Regions from separate parts of the Homo sapiens genome. Here region 1 is linked to region 2. Evidence: promoter capture Hi-C in human tissues and cell types (Jung and others, 2019). All regions are on one chromosome and are shown on one strand. Each heading gives the region's core, a stretch centred on a gene start or on the middle of the fragment in contact. The rest is flanking DNA. Distances are from core to core; before and after follow the strand shown. Region 1 has its middle 38 kb from the start of MYEOV. Region 2 holds the start of CCND1 (cyclin D1).

Region 1 (7,504 bases), core at 909-3,408, 310 kb after region 2:
GCAGCACAGGGACAGGAATGGAGGCGCTTTCTGCAGGCGGCACTGCCAAGCCACATGGCGTTGGTGGGGACATCCCATTCTCTTAAGGGAGGAGACAGTCATTGTTGGGAAAAGAAACACAATCTGCCACATCTTCCAATCAGCTTTGGCAAGTCATGACACTGACACACTTTGCTCTTTTCTCTGCGTAGCTCCCGTGTCACTCCCTCCATGGGGTGGGACAGAGCAAGGTAGAAGAGTGAGGAGCTGTCCCCGTCCCCTGCTTGTGAACCCCAAGGCTGCATTCTATCGCACAGGTTCTCCGACTGCATTCCTAGCCCTGGGTCCTTGCAGGCAGGAAGGGGGTGGCCCTGTGTGGGGAAGGTGGGGAGTCCACCGGTCCCAGCAGCCGTGTTTCCATCACCTCTGTGTGTTAGGAGATTCCTCACCAGATTCTGATGAAAAGGAAGTCTCTGCCACTGAAAGACACATTTACAAACAGCTGTATGGTCTCATTCAGTTTCCGCAGCCCTGAGGAGCAGGAACTATCATGTCCATCTCCTGGATGAAGAGCTCCAGAGAGATCAAATGACTCATCCAGGGGTGCCCCACTGGCATTGAATGGGGGGTCAAAATGTCAACCCAGGTGTGTCCACCGAGGCTCTTTGCCCCACATCAAGGCATCCCTGGGCACAGGCCACGCTGTGGGGCACTGACTGCCAGCCTCCCAAAGGTGTCCACACACTGATGCCCGGAACTGTGCACATGCAATCAGGGTCGTGCATATGCAAACAGATTCATGCATATGCAAACAGGGTCATGCATACGCAAACAGAGCTGTGCATATGCACACAGGGCTGTGCGGATGTGAGTAAGGAAATGATCCCGAGCTGGATTATCCAAGTGGGCTCTAAATTGAATCTCAGGGTCCTTAGAGAGGAGGCAGGGAGGACAGACAGAAGCAAAGTGCTGTTACAACAGAAGCCGATGGGTGAAATGATTGTGGTGTGTGGTGAAGCTATGCTGTTGTTTTGAACATGAAGGAAGGGGCCACAATCCAATGAACACAAGTGGCCTCTAGAAGCTGGAAAGGGCCCCCAGTGGATTTCCCTCCTGAGCCTCCAGAAAAACCAGCCCTGCTGACTCCTTGATTTTAGCCCAGGGAGACTGATTTCAGACATTTGACCTCCAGAATGTATGGGAATAAATTTGCATTGTTAGAAGCTACTTCATTTGTGCTAATTTGTGACCGTAGCCACAGGAAGCTAATACACACACCAAGCAGTGACAACCTCTCTCTAGGGCATAGAACTTTTCACTGTACCAAGCATATCCTCTATGGCATTAGACTCTCACAACCCAAGCTGAAGACACTGAGCTTGGAGAGGGGAAGGGACCTGCCTAAAGTCACACAGCCACTGAAGGTGGCACCAGGACTGGGCCCAGGTCTTAGGTTCAATGGCTGCAGTACAAAGACCTTGAGCATTAGACCAGGGTTGGCGAGGAATGTAGCAGGGGCTGGTGAGCACCAGTTGCCTTTTCTCCTGTCCAGCCTCTCTTCCCAATATGCCTGGAGCTGTCTCTCAACCTCTCCAGCTTGGGGGTGTAGTTTTCCTTAGATTCACTAATCTACCCCATATGCATCCAACAAATGCCCCCTTTGCCTAGGTCAGCTGGAGTTGGTTTCTGTTCCCTGGACACAAAGAACCACAATTGAATCCCATGGTCACCCCAGGGTATGGGGGAACTTGGGGCCTCTCCCACTGTAGCCAATCACCTTTCCCACCCCATCTCAGCTTCCTGAATCATAGGGTGAATAGTTAAGCAACCACCAATTGGGCTTCCCACCTACACTAATCCCAGAGGCCTGGTGGGTTTATCCAGCCCGTATCAGGTGTCCTGGGAAGGCTTGCTCTGTGGCCTCATAGCTGTCCCATGACAAATTTATTAAATGCTCTGGCAGGACAGACTCTCATGGGGATAGACATCTGGCTGCAGATTGGACTGGCAAATGGACAAATGGACAAAGGGACCAGAAAGACTTCACGATGTGAGACTTTAAGCTTTGGCCCAGGGCAAGAGAGGGGGCCAAACAGAAAGGAGGTGTGGGGCAGAGAATCAGAGAAGCTGGTGTTTCCTCAGTGCCCACACAGACCTGCCAAAGTTCTAGTGCTTTAGTGCATTGTAGCTGTCTTTATAGCCAGCCTGACAGGATCCCCATTATACAAATGGACAGACAAAGGCTCAGGTGATGCTTTCTCACCCAAGTCACACACAGCCAATTAGTGGTGGGCTCAGAATTTTAAGTCATGTCTTTCCAATCTCAAAGCTCATGCTTTTTTCATAGCATCACACCTTGAGAAGCCACGAGGTTGCTGCCAGGGCTGAATCTGGCTCGTGGCATTCAGGCCAATTCAGTAAGTGCATATGGAGCACCAGCTGTGGACAAGGGGCTGTGAAAGACTCAAGGGAGAGTCCTGTGGTTTTGAGCTCTGCCCTCAAGTAGGTGACCATCTGATGGGGCAGACAGAAAAGACATGCCCTGCTTCTGCAAGAAGAGTGTGGCCCAGGCAAAGGATGCCTGTACATGGGGAAATATTTCAAGTCATTGGCAGAGGCTGGGGAAGGCTGCCTGGAGGAGGGGACATTTGAGCTGCAAAGGATTTTTACAAGTGGGAAAGCCAAACTTTTCTCAACAACTAAATGGGAACTATAATAGCTGCCTCTCACTGCTGTGCACACACATATACAGACACAAACACAACTGGACACCTAAATGGTATGAAAACAATAGTACAAAGGTGAGACATGGAATGAAAGTATACTGCAATAAATTTCTTTTACTAGATGTTAGGTAGTATAATATCACTGAAGGATAATATTATTCAAAGATAGACTGTGATAAGTTAAAGATGTATACTATAAACGCTTTAGCAACCACTAATATAATACAGCAAAGAATTACAGCTAATAAACCAACAAATAAGATAAAATGAAGGAATGAATAATACTCAATCACAAAGAAGGTAGAAAGGAGGGAAAATGAAACACAGAACAAGTAATACAAATACAAAACAAAAATCATGATGGCAGAATTAAATACTATTATATCAACAATCACATTAAATGTAAAGGTCTAAACACCTCAATTAAGAAACAAAGATTGATAGGTTGGATAAAACAAGCAAGACCCAATTACATGCTGCCTACAAGAAGCCCACTTTAAATATAAAAAAAATAATAATTTTAAAGCAAAAGGATAAAAAAAGATGTACCACACTAATTACCATGCTAATGTACTTTGCTATGTTCATATTTGCTACTTTGCTACACTAATAGCAAAGTAGATTTTAGAGGAAAGAATATTGCCAGGAATAGTCATTTCATAATGACAAAAGGTTTCAATTCTCAAGTGAACATAACAATTCTAGATGTTTATATGCCAAATAAGACCTTCAAAATACATGAGGCAAAATGAATAGAACTACAAAAGAAATAGACAAATCCAGTTATAGTAATAGGTTTCAACAGCTCTATGATTGACAGGGCAAATGTACAGAAGTCAACAAGAATATAGGGCTGGGCATGGTGGCTCACACCTGTAATGCTAGCACTTTGGGAGGCCGAAGCAGGCAGATCACCTGAGGTCAGGAGTTCTAGACTAGCCTGGCCAACATGGCGAAACGTCATTTCCACTAAAAATACAAAAATTAGCCAGGTATGGTGGTGCATGCCTGTAGTCCCAGCTCTTCCGGAGGCTGAGGCAGGAGAATTGCTTGAACCCAGAAGGTAGAGGTTACAGTGAGCCAGGATCACACCACTGCACACCAGTCTGGCTGACAAAGTGAGACTCTGTCTCCAAAAAAAAAGAAGAAGAAGAATGTAGAAGACTTGAATAACACTAGCAATCTAGCAATCAATGTGACTCAACTGGCATGTTTAGAACACTTCACTCACGACAGCAAAATATAAATTATCTTCAAACACACAGAACATTTTTCAAAAATATATCATAATCTCATCTCAATAAATTTAAAAGGGCGTGAAAAATCTCAATAAATTTAAAAGGATACAAATCATTCAATGCATGTTTTCTGGCCAAAATAGAATAAAATTAGACACCAAATAATAGAATGATATCTGTAAAATCCCCAAATATTTGGAAACTAAATAACACTTCTCTGTAAAGCACAGTTTAAAGAAATCAAAAAGATAATTAGAAAATGGAAATTGGAAAACATTTTGAAATATTTGAAAATGAAAACACAACCTACAAAGTCTGTGGGATGTGATTAAACCAGTACTCTAAGTAATTTATAGCACTAAAATATCCCAGCTTTTACCTGAAGAAACTAGAGAAAAAAGGACAAATCTAACCAAAGAGAAACAGAAAAAAAGGAAATAATAAAGATTAGAGCGGAAATCAATAAAATAAAAAAAATAGAATCAATGAAACCCAAAACTGGTAATTTGAAAAGATCAATCCGACTTACAAACATCAAACCCTACTCATCAGAAAGAAAAGAAAGAAGACAAATTACCAATATGAGAAATGAAAGAGGTAGCATTACTACCGATTGCACACATATTAAAAGGAATATGATGAATAATTGTATGCGAAGAAATTTGACAATTCAGATGTAATGGACAAATTCCTTGAAAGACAAAAACTAATAAAGCTCACTCAAGAAGAAATAGATAACCTGAATAGTCCATATTTTTTAAGAAGTTAAAAACTTTACTACAAAGAAAACTCTAGGCCTCACTGGTGCATTTTACAAAACACTTAAGAAAGAAATAATTTCAATCTACACAAAATTTGCCAGAAAATTTAAGAGAAAAGAGTATTTCCAACTTATTCTATGAAGCCAGCACTACTGTAATATCAAAATCATACAAATATATTACAAGAAAAGAAAGCTACAAACTAATATCCCTCATGAAATAGATGCAAACATTCTAAACAAAGTTTTAAAAATCAAGTCCAGCAACACATAAAAAAATAATACATATGATCCAGTATAGTTTATTTTAGGAATACAAGTTCGGTTTAACATTAGAAAACAATGTAATTCATAATATTATTGCGAAAATATTATATTTACAATATAAAAGCACATTGTCTCAATGGATGCAGGAAAAGCATTAGTCCAAATCCAACATATATTGCTGATAAAAACTCTCAATAAACTAGGAATAAAAGGAAACGTCCTCAACCTGGTGAAGGGCATCTGTGAAAAACCCGCAACTAACATCATACTTAATAGTGAAAGACCAAAATCTTTCCCTCTAAGATCAGGAATAAGGCAGGGATGTGCTCTCTAACCACTTCTAACCAATATTGCATGGAAGGTTCTTGCCAGTCTAGTAAGATTTTAAGAAGAAAGAAAAAAGAAGGAGGAGGGAAAGAGAAGGGAAGTAAGGGAGGGAGGGAGAGAGGAAGTGTCTTTGAATCAGAAAGGAGCAAATGAATCTGCTTTATTTACAAACAATTCGACCATCTACAGAGAAAATCTTATGGAGTCTATGAAAAAAGCTACTAGAAGTCACCAACGAGTTTAACAAGTTTGCGGTATAGAAGATCCATATACAAAAAGCCATTGTGTGTCTGTATAATAGCAACATGACACAACCGGAATAAAAACATTTACAGAAACACGACAAAAATAGGAAATACACACATAGACAAGTCTGATAAAAACCTGTGTGAAACTGAAATTTGCTGAGAGAAATTAAAGAATACCAAAATAAATTGAGAAATAGACCATATTCATGGGTCAAAAGATGCCAATTCCCCCAAAATGGATCTACAGATTCAAAACAATCTCAATCTCAATACCAGTAGTTATAACCCAGCCATTTCACTCCTCAATATGTACCCAAGAGAAATGAAAGCCTATATCCATACAAAGGCTTATACACAGATGTTCATAGCAGCCTTATTGTAATAGCCCCAAACTAGAAACAACTCTGATGTCCGTTAACTGGGGAGTAGATAAAAACAAACCAGTGCATCCACTTAGTGAAACAGTACTCCGCAATAAAAAGGAACAAACTAGTCATACAAGTGACAATGTAGATGAACCTCAGAATACTTATACTGAGCAAAAGAATCCAGGCAAAGCAAGAGTGCATACTTTATGACCCTATTTATATAAAATTCTGGAAAATGCAAACAACCTATCATGAGAATTAGCAGAGAAGCGTTTCCCTGGGGATGGGGGTGGGGAGGAACATGGGAAACTTTGGGGGTTGTGGACATATTTATTGTCTTGATCATAGTGATATTTTCATGGGTGTATAAAGATGTCAAAACTTACCAAATTGTACACTTTAAACACATGCAGTTTATTGTATGTCAATTCTGCCTCAACAAACAATTGAAAGGGAACAAAAATATCTTTCTTTTAGGTATGAAGATAAGAGGAAAGAAGACTGTATGGTCTTAATGTTAGGATTTTGTTTTTAAACCAAGAATTTAGTTGGTTGTCGGGGTATTCTCTTAGCTTTTTAGCCCTCTAAGTTTTTCAGCAGCATCTCTTTCTAGGCCCAATTGGTTGAGATAGAAGCAACATTCTTCACCCAATGAGAGGCAGGGGCCCCCTTTTTCACCCATTGTAAGATCTAATCACCATCTATTTTGGAGGACTACTCCAGCCAAAGAGTCTAGTTGGTCTTGGACTGTCTTTTTTTGTTGTTTGTTTGTTTGCTTGTTTGTTTGAGACCGAGTCTTGCTGTGTCGCCCAGGCTGGAGTGCAGTGGCATGATCTCGGCTCACTGCAACCTCCGCCTCCTGGGTTCGAGCAACTCTCCTGCCTCAGCCTCCAGAGTAGCTGGGATTACAGGCATGTGCCCAGCTAATTTTTGTATTTTTAGTAGAGACAGGATTTCACCATGTTGGCCAGGCTGGTCTCGAACTCCTGACCTCAAATGATCTGCCAGCCTCGGCCTCCCAAAGTGCTGAGATTACAGGCGTGAGCCACCATGTCCACCCTGGTCTTGGACTTTTATCAGGCTTTGGGCTATATCTTTTAATGAACCTTGCAGTTCTGTTGACAGAGCTTTAAAGTATGTTAAGGAGGTGGTCAATCCGCCTGCTCCCAACCCAAGCCCGGAGGTTATACCTAAGGCGGCCATTAAAGGAATAACTTGGATGGCCCTTCTTTTTCTAACATATTGGACGGATGGAATGGGTAAAGATAGATTAGGAGGAGCTAGTCCAATGGAGGGAGAAAGATAAACTAGGGTACAGGATTCTATTCGGACCAGGAGAGGCTTGCATTTGCTAATATGGAGTCCAGACAGGAACCCATTGCTTCTCTAGAAATTAGATGCAAGCCTCTTTCTCCAGGCTCACTGGGTGTGCTGATTCTACTTTTCCATCTTCAAGCAGCAGAGATGGGGGTAGGAGAGCGAGCGACCATGGAAGGAAAGTTCCTGACCTCTTGTAAAGCCTGGGCCCGCCACGCCTGTTCTGTGCCAGGCCAGCCCCTTTTGTTCAAGCCTGTTGAGTTGGACTTCCATC
Region 2 (7,407 bases), core at 2,289-4,788:
TGGGGCCAAGGCCATGTCAGGGAGGGGCCTCTGGGGCCATGCCAGGGGAAGTGAGGACTGGGTGCTTCTGCTGCCCACGGTGGCGGCCCAAGCTGAGAGTGCTCTGAAGCGCCCCCTCAGGGCTCAGCTGAGCCCGGCTGGCTGCCGGCACCCCTGGCAGGGCCTCAGGCAGCCGAGCTCCTCTGCTGGACACCCCTGCACTCGGCTGCCCAGAGCACGTGGTGCAGGCAGGCCGACAGCTCTCCCCGCCCCTGGAGGCGCCTCTGGCAGGTGGCCCAGCCTGGGAGAGGCCAGGAGGGGGCCTCTGCAGCTCAGGCTCCTTAAGGACACAAGAAGGGCTGGAGGTGGGTGGAGAAAGGAGGCGGCCCTGTGGCCAAGGTAAACCCCTTTCAGCATGGAGTGGCCACAGGCTGCCTGGCCTGAAGGACGAGGCCAGAGTAACGGGACACAGGCAGGCTGAGCCGTCCACACCAATGCCCAAGGTACTGCATGGTGGCCGTGAGGGAGCAAATCTCCCTCCATCCAGCGCGACAAACAATCCAGGGCCTCTGCTCACCAGAGCTGGAAGAGCGCTCTCCAGCGCAGGAGGGGGTCTGGGGACATCTTCCCAGACAGCACCCAGGTGGAGAGCAAGAAGCCGGCCAGGGTCACCTAAGGAGCCGGCTCTCAAGGGGAGGCCGGGGGCTGCCGGGCCTGCCCTACCTGTGGCACAGAGGGCAACGAAGGTCTGCGCGTGTTTGCGGATGATCTGTTTGTTCTCCTCCGCCTCTGGCATTTTGGAGAGGAAGTGTTCAATGAAATCGTGCGGGGTCATTGCGGCCAGGTTCCACTTGAGCTTGTTCACCAGGAGCAGCTCCATTTGCTGCGAACACAGGGTGAGCGGCCATCAGGGGAGGTGCGGGCCAGCCCGGGGGCGCGGGGAAGCCGGCAGCACGGGGGCCGGGCCACGCCGCACCTCCGGCTCAGAGCACTGGCCCCTGCGTCTCGTGCGGTCCTGGATGTTGGAGGGGAGGGCTGGCGAATGCTGGGGACTCAAGGGAGCTGGGGCAACACGCAATCCCAGATCAAAACAGAAAAGGCGCCCGCCGCGTGAAAAGACTCTGCAAGTGGAAACAAAAAGACCTCCCACCACCTGGAACTGGAGGCTCAGCGCCGAGCGCGGCGCTCCTCGTGCAGCCGCTGGAGGGCGCGCGCCGCCCACTTTTCGGCCACACCGCGGGGCGCGAACGCGGTGGGAGTCGCAGGCAAGCGCACACAGGGCGGCGGGACGAGGGCGGCTAGGATCCCGCCCGCTCCCCGGACAGGGACGCCCGGCGGCGGGGCCGCCCTCCCTCGGAGGAGCAGATATGTCAGAGGCGGGCCGGCCGCCACCGCCTGCACCTTCCCCGGCCCCGTGGTCCTGCGTGCGGCTCGCGGGGGGCGGGGGGCGGCGGGGTCCAGTGGTTACCAGCAGCTCCTCGGGCCGGATGGAGTTGTCGGTGTAGATGCACAGCTTCTCGGCCGTCAGGGGGATGGTCTCCTTCATCTTAGAGGCCACGAACATGCAAGTGGCCCCCAGCAGCTGCAGGCGGCTCTTTTTCACGGGCTCCAGCGACAGGAAGCGGTCCAGGTAGTTCATGGCCAGCGGGAAGACCTCCTCCTCGCACTTCTGTTCCTCGCAGACCTACGGAGGCACGGGGCCCGTGACCGCCGCCGCCAGGTCGCGCCGCCCCCCCGCACGCCCCCGCACCCCCCATCGCGCTTGGCAGGGCCGCCAGGTCTGGAGGGCGCCGAGGGGTCGGGGCTGGGGGCGGCAGGAGCTTCCCGTGATGCGCCCCCTCCCCCGCGCGTCCCCAGTACCCACCCTCCCCGAAACTGAAAGGGAAAGTCCCCGCGAGGCTGGCACGGTGGGGGCGGGAGCGGGCACAGCTGGGCGGCGTGCGCGGCGGCGCGGGCTGCCGGCCCCCGGGACCCTGGCCCGCCCTGGAGCTCCGTGGTCCCTCTGACTGGGGGTCGACACCAACTGGGGTGCGGGGCCGCGGAACGGGCCGCGGGGTTGGGCGCCGCGCCTGCGAGACACAAAGGTGGCGTCCCAGGCCGCCGCGCCGCATTTCCCCAGACGTCATCTTTTCAAAAAATATTTAAAAATATTAAAAAAATAACTAAGTGCATAAAAAAACCCTGAAAATGACCCTCGGGCGACCCTTTACCCAGGCCGGGGGTTGGGAGTTCGTTACAGGCTCCGGGGGGAGCCCCAGGAATTCAAACTCCGGGGCCCCCCCTTCCCCCTGGGCGCGGGCGGCGTTTCCCTCTCGCAAGGGCACCACGCCGCACTTTCAAAAATTATTTTAAAATACTTGCGGGCCCCTCAGGCGCCCACCGAAGGTCTGAAAATGTGCTCCCAGGCCCCCGGCTCGCTCGGAGAAGGTCCTCCAAGCCGATATCCCTGCAGACGGGGATCAAGCCCTGGCGTCTTGGGGGCCACGCGACCTTGCAGCTCGCCGTGCTCTCCGGCCCAGGCTGCCCGTTCGGGGCGCCCCGGGACTCGCTGCTTGAACAAAGGCCCCCCCTTCCCTAGCGGCGTCCCCCCAAAACTACCCATGCCGCGTCCCTGCGCCCCTCCCGCGGGCTCCCGGCAGCCGCGCGGCCCTTAGCTGCGGCCCCAGCGCCCGGCGGCCGCTCCCCGCCCCCACCCTGCCCCCAATTATTAATAAACACTTTTGCTTTGCAATAAAAGAGCAAAGATGGCGCATAATACTGGCACGAGCGGCCCTTGCATACGTGTCCATGGATATTAATTTAAAAATCAAATCTATGCCCCCTCCCCCCGGAGTTGGCGGCTCCCGGCCGCTGAGGCGCAGCCGGGCTGGGGCGCAGGCGGGGGACACAAAGCGCACCCAGCCTGCCAGCCCGCACCCTCGGGCCCATTGGGGTGCCCCTGGCACTGGCTTCTCCCGAAGGCACCCCTCCCGGACCCCCTTCTCCCCTCCCACGAAACGCTACTTCTAGCACCCCCACCCCCACCCCTTCCTCCTTCAGAAAATACCCGCAATTTTTATTTTGAAAATACGGATCCCTAGAAACACCACGGCAAACTTCAAAGTTCTAGCGGGAGAGAAGGGAGGGGGGTGAGTAGCAAAGAAACGTGGGTCTGGGCAACAAGTTGCAGGGAAGTCTTAAGAGAGCCGCCCGAAGCCCCGCACCTCCAGCATCCAGGTGGCGACGATCTTCCGCATGGACGGCAGGACCTCCTTCTGCACACATTTGAAGTAGGACACCGAGGGCGCGCAGGTCTCCTCCGCCTTCAGCATGGCCCGCAGCACCCGGTCGTTGAGGAGGTTGGCATCGGGGTACGCGCGGCGGATGGTTTCCACTTCGCAGCACAGGAGCTGGTGTTCCATGGCTGGGGCTCTTCCTGGGCAGCTGGGGAGGGCTGTGGGTCCTGGCTGGGTCCGCGCTCGGCTCTCGCTTCTGCTGCCCCGCGCTCCCTCGCGCTCTTCTGCCCCTCGCCGGAGCGTGCGGACTCTGCTGCTCGCTGCTACTGCGCCGACAGCCCTCTGGAGGCTCCAGGACTTTGCAACTTCAACAAAACTCCCCTGTAGTCCGTGTGACGTTACTGTTGTTAAGCAAAGATCAAAGCCCGGCAGAGAATGGGAGCGGGAGGGGGGCGGGGGCGGGCGCAGGGGGAGGGGGCGCGGGCGCCAAACGCCGGGAGCAGCGAGGGGCAGAGCCCAAAAGCCATCCCTGAGGCGCCGCGCCTGCCCTGCGGCGGAGTTGCCCCTGTAGTCCGGTTTTCATAGAAATGCAAATCGCCCCGCTGCAGCCTTTCTCCCCGCCAGGGAAGAGGGGTGCAGGGGGCCCCGTCCGCCTCGAGTGGGTCCCCCGGGATTTAGGGGGTGAGGTGGAGGTGGCTCTGCAGTAGGGGACAACTAGGAAGGCCGGCAGGCCACACGCAGCCTGGGGAGACCACGAGAAGGGGTGACTGGGGCGCGGCGACACCCCATATCCAAGCCGGCAGAATGGGCGCATTTCCAAGAACGCCACGAGGGCACCCACGGGCGGACAGACGGCCAAAGAATCTCAGCGACTGCATCTTCTTTCATTTTCATTAACACGTGTAAATTGCAAGAACTAATTTAGCATGCAAGGACGGGGAGGACCGGGCACACAACCCCTGTGCAAGTTTCATTCCGGCGCACAGGGGCGTCGTTGCAAATGCCCAAGGGGGTAACCCTAAAAGTTAAAGGGATTTCAGCTTAGCATGCGCTCGCTCAAAAAATAAAATAAAATAAATGCCCGAAAATTCCAGCAGCAGCCCAAGATGGTGGCCAGCATTTCCTTCATCTTGTCCTTCTAGCCTGGAGACTCTTCGGGCTGCCTTCCTACCTTGACCAGTCGGTCCTTGCGGGGGTCCCCAACTGCACCCCCTCCCTTCCCGTGCCGGCAATTTAACCGGGAGAAACACACCTCTGAATGGAAAGCTGAGAAACAGTGATCTCCATTCTGACTCATTTTTTTTAATTAAAAAAGAAATTAAATTGCTGGAAATATTAGTCCCCTCTGCCTGGGACAAGACCACCGAAGGTTCCTAATTGGTTTTGTTGGGGGTGTAGACGTCCCTTCACCTTTAGAATTTGCCCTGGGACTGAATTCGTGAGCGTGAGGGGGCTGGCAGGAGCCGGCATAATTCAGAACAATTATCAATTAAACAAACGAGTGTACTGATCTGATTTTTAGCAAAATCGATAGGTGTTCGTGGTTACATGAGAGGGTCCCCAATATTATCGCAAACTTAAGCAGATGTAAATTAAAATACACAGTTTTTAAAATTACAGGTTCTGTCTCTTTGGTGCATTAAAAAATAAAAGGACATTTTACTGTCTTAACTTTTGTTTTTATTTTTACAGTACCTGCCCCAAATTAAGAAAACTGTTCATTTACTTCCTTTTGAATATAGTTCAGTGTCATCAAACCACCGTACCCTCTTAACAGTAAAAGCTCAAAGAAAACTGATAGAAAAAGCCCTCTCCCCTTCGCCAGGGTGCTCACAGCAAGATGCGACCCCCCCCACCCCCACCTTTCAGGGTGAATTCCTCCCGCGCCCCCTCCCCCGCCGGGAATTAGGATTACTAATATTCCGGGTCCTGGGGGGGTAATTACCCCCGGATTCCGCATGGGGAGCGATGGGTTGCCCCAGCAGGGAGCACCTACGGTCGTGCCCCCCCCCACTCCCCGAGCACCCACAATCGCGTTGGCCCCCGCATAGCCAAGCCTCAGAGCATCAGCCCGCGCACAAGGGCGGCCCAGCTGCTTTTTCATTCATAAAATCCCGACCCGGCGGCCGCCTGGATGATTTATGGGGCCCGGAGCTATCACCCGGCCTCTCCCATCCCGTGGGGCGAGGGGCCCCGAGCCCCGCGTGCGCCCTGGCCCAGCCCGAGGCGCGAAGCGGGCCGAAGTCGGCTAGGGGCAGCAGGGCATAAAGAGGCTCGCCCACTCCGGCACAACCGGCTCTGGGTCCAGGAGGGAGCTTCACCCCCCCATCCCGGGCGCAAGACAGAGGAAACTGGAATTAGCATGAGCCAATGGGGGCGCGGCGCTGTTACTAGGCGGACCGGGCAGATCTCGACTAGGAACTTCGTTGATTTCCCGGCTCAGGGACGAGCGCAAAATTGCAAGCCCGGTTAGCGAGCGTAAAGAGCCGTCCAGGAACCCGCGGGGGAGGCGCTGGAATTTGGGGCCCGGCGCTGGAATTTGGGGCCCGGCGGGGAGCGCCAGCTGCCCAGCCCCCACCTGGGGGAACCCTGCTTGGCGGCCCCCGGGTCCCCCGAGGGGGCCAATACCTCTGGGCTTTTGAGGGTCATTGCTTCAAGAAGCGCAGAGAAAGCATTTTGATTTTATTTTTTCCAAAGAGAAAAGCAACTTTAAAAAACTTTTCGGTTGCAGTTTTACTTTACACTGTCTTCTTAAAACCCACCACGAAGCAGGAACTGCGGATTCTGGGCTCATTTAAAGTGCTCTGTTCTTATTTCTTGGTGACCATTTGGAGACAAAGGGCAAGTGGCCCAGTCGGGAGGGTAACCACGTTGTTTGAAAGAAAATCCAAAATTAACTGAAATCACCTTCACGCTTTCCTCGCCCCCTGGCCCCCGCCCCGGTGACCGCGGCCTGGGCGGATGGTCGGTCAGGAGAAAGCGAATTCCGCTGCAGGCGCGTGTTCGCCACCGTCCCTGGCTGTGGGAACCTTCATTCAGGCGGGGGAAGGGAGCGCGTTCATTCAGGAACCGGCGCGCCGCGACGCAGACCCCGGGACTCAGCGCGGCTGCGCGCCGCGGGGCTCGGGGCTTGGGTTGGGGGCGGGTGGTGCAGGGACCAGTCCCGACCTTTCGCCAGCGACCTCCCGCACCCGCTTTTCCACCAGGGCGGCTGGCGGGCGGGCGCACCCAGGTGGGGTCACCTGCAGCCGCATACCTGGCGGCGACTTGAAAGGACTTGGCTCAGGCTCCGCGAGTTTTCCATTGTTAAGCCCTTAAGTCGCCCGGGAAAACGCTTCCGAAAGCCGGCCCCTGGGCTCCGAAGGCGCTCGAGCTCCCCTTCCCCCCACACTGCTTGCTTTTGGGGTGCGCGTGGCGGCCCACGTGCTATGGCAGCTCTGCTTCGCTTACGTAGCGCCGATCCCAGGCGCCCCAAAACTGCGAGGTGGGCCGGGGCGAACTCCGGCCCCAGTGCCCACCCGAGACAGCCACACGCTCGGCACATGGACAGCCGCACCGCCCCCCCCATCGCCCCAACCGCAGACGTGCGTTTCCGCTCCAGATCAATTAGTTTCAGCCACACACAGACCACCCTGCCACCGCCCCTCCCGTGCCCCAGTCGTCTGTCCGGCGGGCTGCGGGGAAACGAGACCCCTCCCCTAGCTCCGAGGGCTGCCGGCAAGGTGTGCGCTGGAGTTAAAACGCAAACCCAACAGGTAGGGGGGCGGCCCTGGCTCCAACGACGCATCTGGGATCCCGAGGCTGAAGGCGCAACTCTTGAGGGTTAAAGGCGATTCTAATTCCTCGACTCCCGCCCCTCAAAACGCATCGGCTGGTACCCTGAGCAATATGAACCCCCAAATCCACCAGAGATTCCCTGGCCTTCCGGCCCCAGCCCCTCTCAGACCAAGTGGTGGGGAGTAGGCGCCCAGATCGAGAAGAAAACCACTTCCGACCACAGGAGAGAAAGCTGGCTGGGGGTGACCTCGGAGGTCACGTTCGGCCCTCTCCCCCGCAGTCAGGCCTGGCCGCGGCCCACCCGAGGCTGAGCAGACCCCCGCGTCGGACGGAGACGCAGGGCTTCGCTGCGGGACTCGCGGGGCCTAGGAAACCTGCGGCGGCGGCTCGCGGGAGCCGGTTTTCCGGCGGAGGATCCGCGCTGAGGCCCTCGTGG

What was found. Contacts are between HindIII fragments. The study calls those that stand out against the background at their distance.
Region 1: a contact is called between a fragment that was not itself captured here and the fragment with the promoter of CCND1 in region 2, in 1 of the 25 tissues and cell types used here (mesenchymal stem cells).

What each region holds. Positions count from the first base shown.
Region 1 is chr11:69,328,430-69,335,933 of GRCh38, reverse strand. No RefSeq gene overlaps it. Among named protein-coding and RNA genes, the nearest start is that of MYEOV, 38 kb to the right of the region's middle. The HindIII fragment of the contact is 5,852 bases long and covers 1-5,084 here.
Region 2 is chr11:69,637,287-69,644,693 of GRCh38, reverse strand. CCND1 (cyclin D1) reads right to left here and starts at 3,538. Exons shown (of 5, transcript NM_053056.3): 1 at 3,183-3,538; 2 at 1,448-1,663; 3 at 703-862. The coding sequence starts at 3,380. RefSeq lists enhancers at 302-1,046, 2,565-3,267, 4,775-5,713, 5,714-6,654 and silencers at 1,263-1,522, 1,653-1,712, 1,803-1,942, 6,467-6,670. The HindIII fragment of the contact is 19,039 bases long and covers 1-7,407 here.